2 separate regions of the Homo sapiens genome follow, and region 2 is linked to region 1. The links are contacts of gene promoters, found by promoter capture Hi-C in blood cells and fetal thymus (Javierre and others, 2016). All regions are on one chromosome and are shown on one strand. Each heading gives the region's core, a stretch centred on a gene start or on the middle of the fragment in contact. The rest is flanking DNA. Distances are from core to core; before and after follow the strand shown. Region 1 holds the start of VASP (vasodilator stimulated phosphoprotein). Region 2 overlaps OPA3 (outer mitochondrial membrane lipid metabolism regulator OPA3).

Region 1 (3,246 bases), core at 290-2,789:
CAGGAAGTCCCAGAGAGAGTAGAGGAAGGGAGATAGTATTGTCAGGCTCTGGCCCCATGGGAGAGATTATGGGGGGCCAGGGGAGGGAAGAATAGGGGGGATGGTTGGGCCCCCCTGCCCACACTGGCCCCGCCCTCAGGTGAGCCCAGGAGTTCGGGGGAGGCCCCGGCCAGACCAAATCCCTGGGTCCCTTGGGCCGCCACCCCCAGGATTAAATTCCTGGGAAGATAGCTGGAATTATCTGGGAAGCCTGGGTCCCTAGGGAAGAGGGCTATGACCTTGAAGCTTTCCAGCTCCCCCTCCTCCAACCCCAAGGCTCCGGGTGGATAGGGGGACGGTGAGCAAAGGGGGAGGGGCCGTGGTGGGGAAGGCAGCCGGCCTACAGCGCTTGGTGCCCGCCCCCCACACCAGCTGTCTCGACAGGTGAGTCAGGAAGACAAAGGCCCCCTTCCCCCAGCTGCCGCGCCCCCTCCCTCTCCAGGGCCGCGCAGGTGGGGGAGCCGGGCCGCCCTTATGGCCGGAGGCGGGGAGCCGCCCTCTGCTCCGAGCGCCCGCTCGGTCCTAGGCACGGCCAGTTAAGCAGATTGTGTGCGGAGCGACGGGGAAGGGGGGGGTCCCACCAGACTCTGGAGGCTGCGTCCAGGTCCCTGGATCGGTTCACACCAGCCTCCTCCACAGGAAGACCTAAGTGACCCCCAAAATCCAGGGGATTAAGAAGTACCCCCGAAGTTATGGAGCGCGGTCCCACTTGGGGAGACTTTTTCCAGCACCAAGTAAACGGGGGACCTGCACACCCAGGGTCTGAGTCTCAGTCTCTCTTCCAAGTCCCAGGGTATCCCAAATCGGTCCCCCACAATCCTTCCCGGACCTCGAGCTGAAGTCTGGGGGGAGGGGGAGGAGAGTCTGAGCCCTGCCTCAATCCTGGCATCCCTGCGGGGAGTCGCTGCCAACTTTGAGGTCCTCTAAAAAAAGTCTTAACAATTCGGGAGTCCTCCGAGCGCCCCCAAATCTTGAGGGCTCCCAGGAGAACCTCACCGCCACCACCCCCCGAGCTTGGGGAGTCAGTCGTGGAGAAGTGATCGACGGTTCTGGGGCGCGTCCAAGGGGATTCAGCTCAAATCCGAGGCTCCCAAGGATCTGTCCCCAAATTCCAGCCCGGAGCTAGCTGGGGGGGAGGGGGACAAAGGCGGGGCGCGGAGCCCGCCCGGGCGGGGACGGGTCGGGGGGCAGGTCCGGCTCACCTCATGGCTGCTCGGCGGGCGGGCGGCTCGCCCACGGGCTGGCTGCTCCCGGGGCGCCCCTGGCTGGAGGTTCAGGGGTTCGGGGCTGGCTCCGGGCTCGGCTCAGGCTCCCCCAGGGTCCCGCCCCATAGAGTCCGGCTTCCTGGGGAGAATGTGGACCGGGCCGGGGCGGGTCTCCGGGCGCCGCTTCCCTCAGGCGGTCTGATGAGAGGTTCCTGCAGCAGAAAGGGGATGCAGCGTCCGCTCCCCAGCGCGCACCCCTTGCCGGTGGCGGCTACAGTGTTACTCTTACTACTGTACTTCTCTTCGTTACATTTCGTTCCAAAATTCCACTCCCCGCACCCACAATGCCCCGCGCCTTAAAGGGGCCGCGTGCGCCTCCAGGCGAGGGGGTGGAGGGCGCTTAAAAGGGCAACTCTGCACCCTCGGCTTCCGCGATCTCGCTCCTCTCCCCAATGTTGTAGCCCAGGGGTGCACCCTGGGAATCACCCCCACCTGAGGGGCAAGTTGGTGAAGGGGAAGGGGACCTCCCTTGCTTCCTAGTTCGCTCCCACTGTGGGAATTCTGAGGAGGGTCTCGGAAGGGGCGCGATTTCTTTCCCCATCGACTTCTCCATCTCGTACTCCGCTCAATTTTGGGGGTCGAGGAGGACCCTCAAGTTAAGCAAGTGGTCTCAGATTTTCTCCCTGAAATCCCATCTTCGGAACACCGCCCCTCCCCAGCGTTTCTCTTCTGTCAATTTCGGAGAGGTTACTAAGGGGGCGAGACCCCCACCCGCACGGGAGTGGAAGTCGGGGGAGTAGGGCCCAACCCCTCTCACCCCACCCCGCCCGCCCCGGGAAGGTGAGGAGGAAGTGGGCCAAGGGGGCGCGGTCGGTCGCTGACTCACAGCCGCAGGGTCGGGGGTGGGGTGGGGTGGAGGTGGGGACTGGCGAGGAGTGCGGGAGTGGGGGGCCCGGCATTCGCCCGGGGTGGGCAGGAGGCGCCGGCTTCTTTGGTGTGTAAAGCCTCCGGCCCACGCACGCCCCGCTCTGACTCAGTTTCGCCTGCGGAGGACAGCAGGATCATCCCAGCCCTCAGGAGGGCCCGGAGGTGAGGAGACCCTCCCGGGAGCCCCCGCCCCCACACGCCGGCTCCGGGCTGAGCCCAGACACCCTCTGAGGCTTCCGCAGCGTGTCTTGCCGGCCCCGCCCCGAGTGACGTCACTGATTTGGTCGCGCCCCTTGGGTAGAGCGCCACCTGGCCCGGGTGAGGCGCCCGAGCCCTGGGAAATCAGTTAGTTCCACATTTACACACGGGTAAACTGAGGCCTGGAGACAGGGAATGAATCTGGCCTATGGCCCTCTTGCCTGAGCCCCCAGAACCCGGAAAGCCACCAAGGTCTGAGTGTAAAACCAACAATTCTCAGGGCCAGCTGACTATGTGAGAGAATCCACTTTTCCAGCGTATGTCCAAGCCGAGTCCCATGTCCGGATGTTGATGTTGTCCTGACCTCCTTTACCTGGGGAGCACGTCATCCTTCCAGGCCAAGCTTTGACATTAATTCCCCTCCCCTTCTCCACCCCACTCTGGGAGACCTTGAACCCTGTTCCTCGGAGGTTATCATTGTTTCTCAGTGTGTTTCCTCAGGCTGAGTTGTCTGGGAGAATGGGTAGACTAAATTTCTTTTTTTCTTTTTTTTTTTTTGAGATGTAGTCTCTCGCTGTCACCCAGGCTGGAGGGCGCTGGCTCGATCCCCGCTTACTGCAACCTCCCCCTCCTGGGTTCAAGCAATTCTCCTGCCTCACCCTCCTAAAGTAGCTGGGATTACAGGCACGGGCCACCAAGCCCAACTAATTTTTGTATTTTTAGTAGAGATGGGATTTCACCATGTTGGCCAGGCTGGTCTCAAACTTATGACCTCAGGTGATCTGCCTGCCTCAGTCTCCCAAAGTGCTAGGATTACAGGCATGAGCCACTGCACCCAGTTGACTTAATCAATTTCTGGACCTCACTCACCCCAGCC
Region 2 (3,246 bases), core at 191-2,690, 50 kb before region 1:
TCCAGCCTTGGGGACAAAGCGAGACTCCGTCTAAAAAAAATAAAAAAAAAAAACAGCAGAACATAGAATAATAAAAACTGCATACAAATCCCCTGTAGAAATGGGGGAGCGGAGAAAGGGCAGGCCGCATGGGGGCAGAGTGCTCACCTTTCATAGTGGGGCTGGATTATGAGTAGGTAACGATGGCGTAGATCTGAACAAACCTCCAGTTGAAGAGCTCAGAAATGAGTGAGGTATGCTTACTATGGGCTGTCCAGGAGATGGCGCTAGGGGAAAACAGGCTGGCGACCGCAGTAGTTGAGGGTTCCTCTGAGGAGGGGACTTTGGCTTTACATTTTATAGTTTGAGTACTTTGTTTTCTTGCCATGTGTTACTTTTATTTGCGGCAGGAGTTGGGGGTGGGGCGACGGGGAATGGTAGGTTTGTTCTTTTCTTTTCTTTTTTTGAGACAGTCTTGCTCTTGTTGCCCAGGCTGGAGTGCAGTGGCGTGGTCTTGGCTCACGGCAACCTCCACCTCCTGGGTTCAAGCGATTCTCCTGTCTCAGCCTCCCGAGTAGGTGGGATTACAGGGGCCTCCCACCACGCCCCGCTAATTTTTTGTATTTTTACTGGAGATGGGTTTCACCATGTTGGCCAGGCTGGTCTTGAACTCCTTACCTCATGATCTGCCTGTCTCAGCCTCCCAAAGCGCTGGGATTAAAGGCCTGAGCTACCGCGCCCAGCCAGTTTGTTCTTTTCTTCTCACCAATTCCTTCTGATTGCTGCGTGGGGGACAATTGCAGAGGGGTGAGGCTGGGGCCGGCAGGTGGGAAGGAGGCTGGAGGCGGGACTCACTTATGTGTTAAGCTTAGATCTAATGAGCATCATGCGTGTGCCTGGCCTGGCACTGGGCAGTGCTGGGGACACAGCAGTGACTGTGACAGCCCTGGGCCCCACCCTTGTGAGGCTTACAGGACAGTGGGGAGACTGATTGCAGACAGGTAACTGGATAGCCACTATTCCTGGTTGTGATAGGCACTCAGAAGGGGATAGACAGGCTGTATTCCTCCTATTCAGGAGGTCAGGGAGGAGAACGTTGGTCAGAGCTGGGATGGATCCTGGACCAGGACAGCAGAAGGGAATCCACTGGGAGAGATGTTCAAGATGCAGAATGGACCCGACACGCAGCTGAGAGGCTGTGGGAGAAGGGGAACAGCTGGGCTGAGGCCCCCGTCTCTAGCCAGGGGACAGGTGTGGGGCCAGGTGCTGGGTTCAGGTTTGGATGTGCTGAGTGTGAGAGGTCTAGGAGACATCTGGAGCGTGTTGACCCCCGCAAGTCTGGTGAGTCCTCCAGCTTAGCCTGTCCCGGCCCCTCACAGCTGTCCCTTCTAGAATCACAGCCCTGTGATTCATCCCCACCTGGGCCTTGTTTCCTGAACCCCACATCTGACCGCTGGCCCGAGGGAGAATGCCGTCGGCCCCTGCTCTGAAAGCCCTGAAAGCCCATGCCTGCGTGCACACACGCGTGCACACACACACACACCCTCTTGATTTGATTTCCTGTGGCCTGGGTATGTGCCCACTCCCATTGGCACACCTAGACCCACCTGCTGGCCCAGATCCCCATGCTTGGTCTGCACTGAGACACTTGCATTTCCACGCTGGGAACCTCACCCAGGAAGGCTAGAGGATCTGGAACCCTCACCCCTCACCACTCTCTGGCCACTGTGCTAGGTGTCCCTGACATGAAGGAGGCAGTGACAGTTACGGGCCCAGCTCTGGGCCACCACCAGGTCTGGCGAGTGTCATTGTCAGGATGATGCTGTCCTTCCTGTGTTACAGAGGGGCCTTGGGGCAGGCTGTCATTGCTCAGGCAGCAGGTGGCGGAGCCCCGGGGGGACCCCAGATCAGCCTGACCCTAAGACCTCAGTGTGGGAGGGGTCTCCACAGCCTGGACCCCAGGAACCCACAAGCCCAGGGCCTAAGTCACAGCTGTAACAGTAACTGCAGCAGCTGACAGTGACAGTGACAGTGACTTCTCGGGCCCTAAGCTTGCACCTCAGGTCTTCCCTCCAGCTCCAGCAGAGCTCCCCAAGCCTTCCTGCCACCCCACCCCTTTGAAGATGAAAAATGTGTAGTGGCTGGGCTCAGTGGCTGTCTCCTGTCGTCCCAGTACTTTGGGAGGCTGAGGCAGGATGATTGCTTGAGCCCAGGAGTTCAAGACCTGCTTTGGCAACATAGCAAGACCCAGTCTCTACCAAAAAACAATTTAAAAACAGCCAGGCATGGTGGGGCATCTATAGTTCTAGCGGCTCCAGAGGCTGAGGCAGGAGAATTGCTTGAGTCTAGGTGTTCGAGGTTGCAGTGAACTGTGATGGAGCCGCTGCCTTCCATCCTGGACCACAGAGTGAGAGCCCATCTGTTAAATAAATAAATAAATAAGATGGAATATGGCAAGACCCCATCTCTACCCAAAAAAAATAAAATTAGCCAGGCATGGTGGCATGCACCTGTTGTCCTAGCTACTCAGGAGGCTGAGGTGGGAAGATGACTCGAGCCTGGGAGGCAGAGGTTGCAGTGAGCTGAGATTGTTCCACAGCACTCCAGCCTGGGCAACAGAACGAGATCCTGTCTCAGAAAAAGAAAAAATAAATTGTGTGCCCTCTAGTGCATTTTCAAGTTGACAAGTAAAACTTTTCTTCATTAACCTTAAGTAGTTGTGAAGGATGGAATTTCTGGTTCTGGTGTGTTATGATACTGACATGTTCAAACAGCTGGTGCATCCTTCCCTTCATATTTATTGCAGTTCGCATACAATAATGATTTGATGCCTACCAATGTCTGGTTTAAAGATATATATATATAGGCCAGGCATAGTGGCTCACGATTGCAATCCCAGCACTTTGGGAGGCCGAGGCAGCCAGATCACTTGAGCCCAGGAGTTCAAGACCAGCCTAGGCAACATACTGATAAACCCCATCTCTATTTTAAAAAAAATACAAAAATGACTAGGCACGGTGGCTCACGCCTGTAATCCCAACACTTTGGGAGGCCGAGGTGGGTGGATCACGAGGTCAGGAGATCGAGACCATCCTGGCTAACACGGTGAAACCCCATCTCTACTAAAAATATAAAAAAATTAGCTGGGCGTGGTAGCGGGCGCCTGTAGTCCCAGCTACTCAGGAGGCTGAGGCAGGACAATGGTGTGAACCCGGGTGGCGGAGCTTGCAGTGAGCCGAGATCGCGCCACTGCACTCCAGCCTGGGC

The links. Contacts are between HindIII fragments. The CHiCAGO score rates a contact against its expected background, and 5 or more counts as called.
Region 2: a contact is called between a fragment that was not itself captured here and the fragment with the promoter of VASP in region 1, in 10 of 17 cell types (naive CD4 T cells, naive CD8 T cells, total CD8 T cells and 7 more). The highest score is 12.1, in naive CD4 T cells.

The regions. Positions count from the first base shown.
Region 1 is chr19:45,505,772-45,509,017 of GRCh38, reverse strand. It overlaps VASP (vasodilator stimulated phosphoprotein), which reads right to left and starts at 1,539. Exons shown (of 13, transcript NM_003370.4): 1 at 1,242-1,539. The coding sequence starts at 1,246. It overlaps LOC107985314 (a long non-coding RNA gene), which reads left to right and starts at 1,644. Exons shown (of 2, transcript XR_007067269.1): 1 at 1,644-2,333. RefSeq lists silencers at 415-614, 1,209-1,388, 2,069-2,198, 2,229-2,478 and enhancers at 1,539-1,808, 1,090-1,874. The HindIII fragment of the contact is 2,487 bases long and covers 288-2,774 here.
Region 2 is chr19:45,555,530-45,558,775 of GRCh38, reverse strand. The region is part of intron 1 of OPA3 (outer mitochondrial membrane lipid metabolism regulator OPA3); the gene reads left to right. Among named protein-coding and RNA genes, the nearest start is that of OPA3, 28 kb to the left of the region's middle. RefSeq lists an enhancer at 247-747. The HindIII fragment of the contact is 1,184 bases long and covers 849-2,032 here.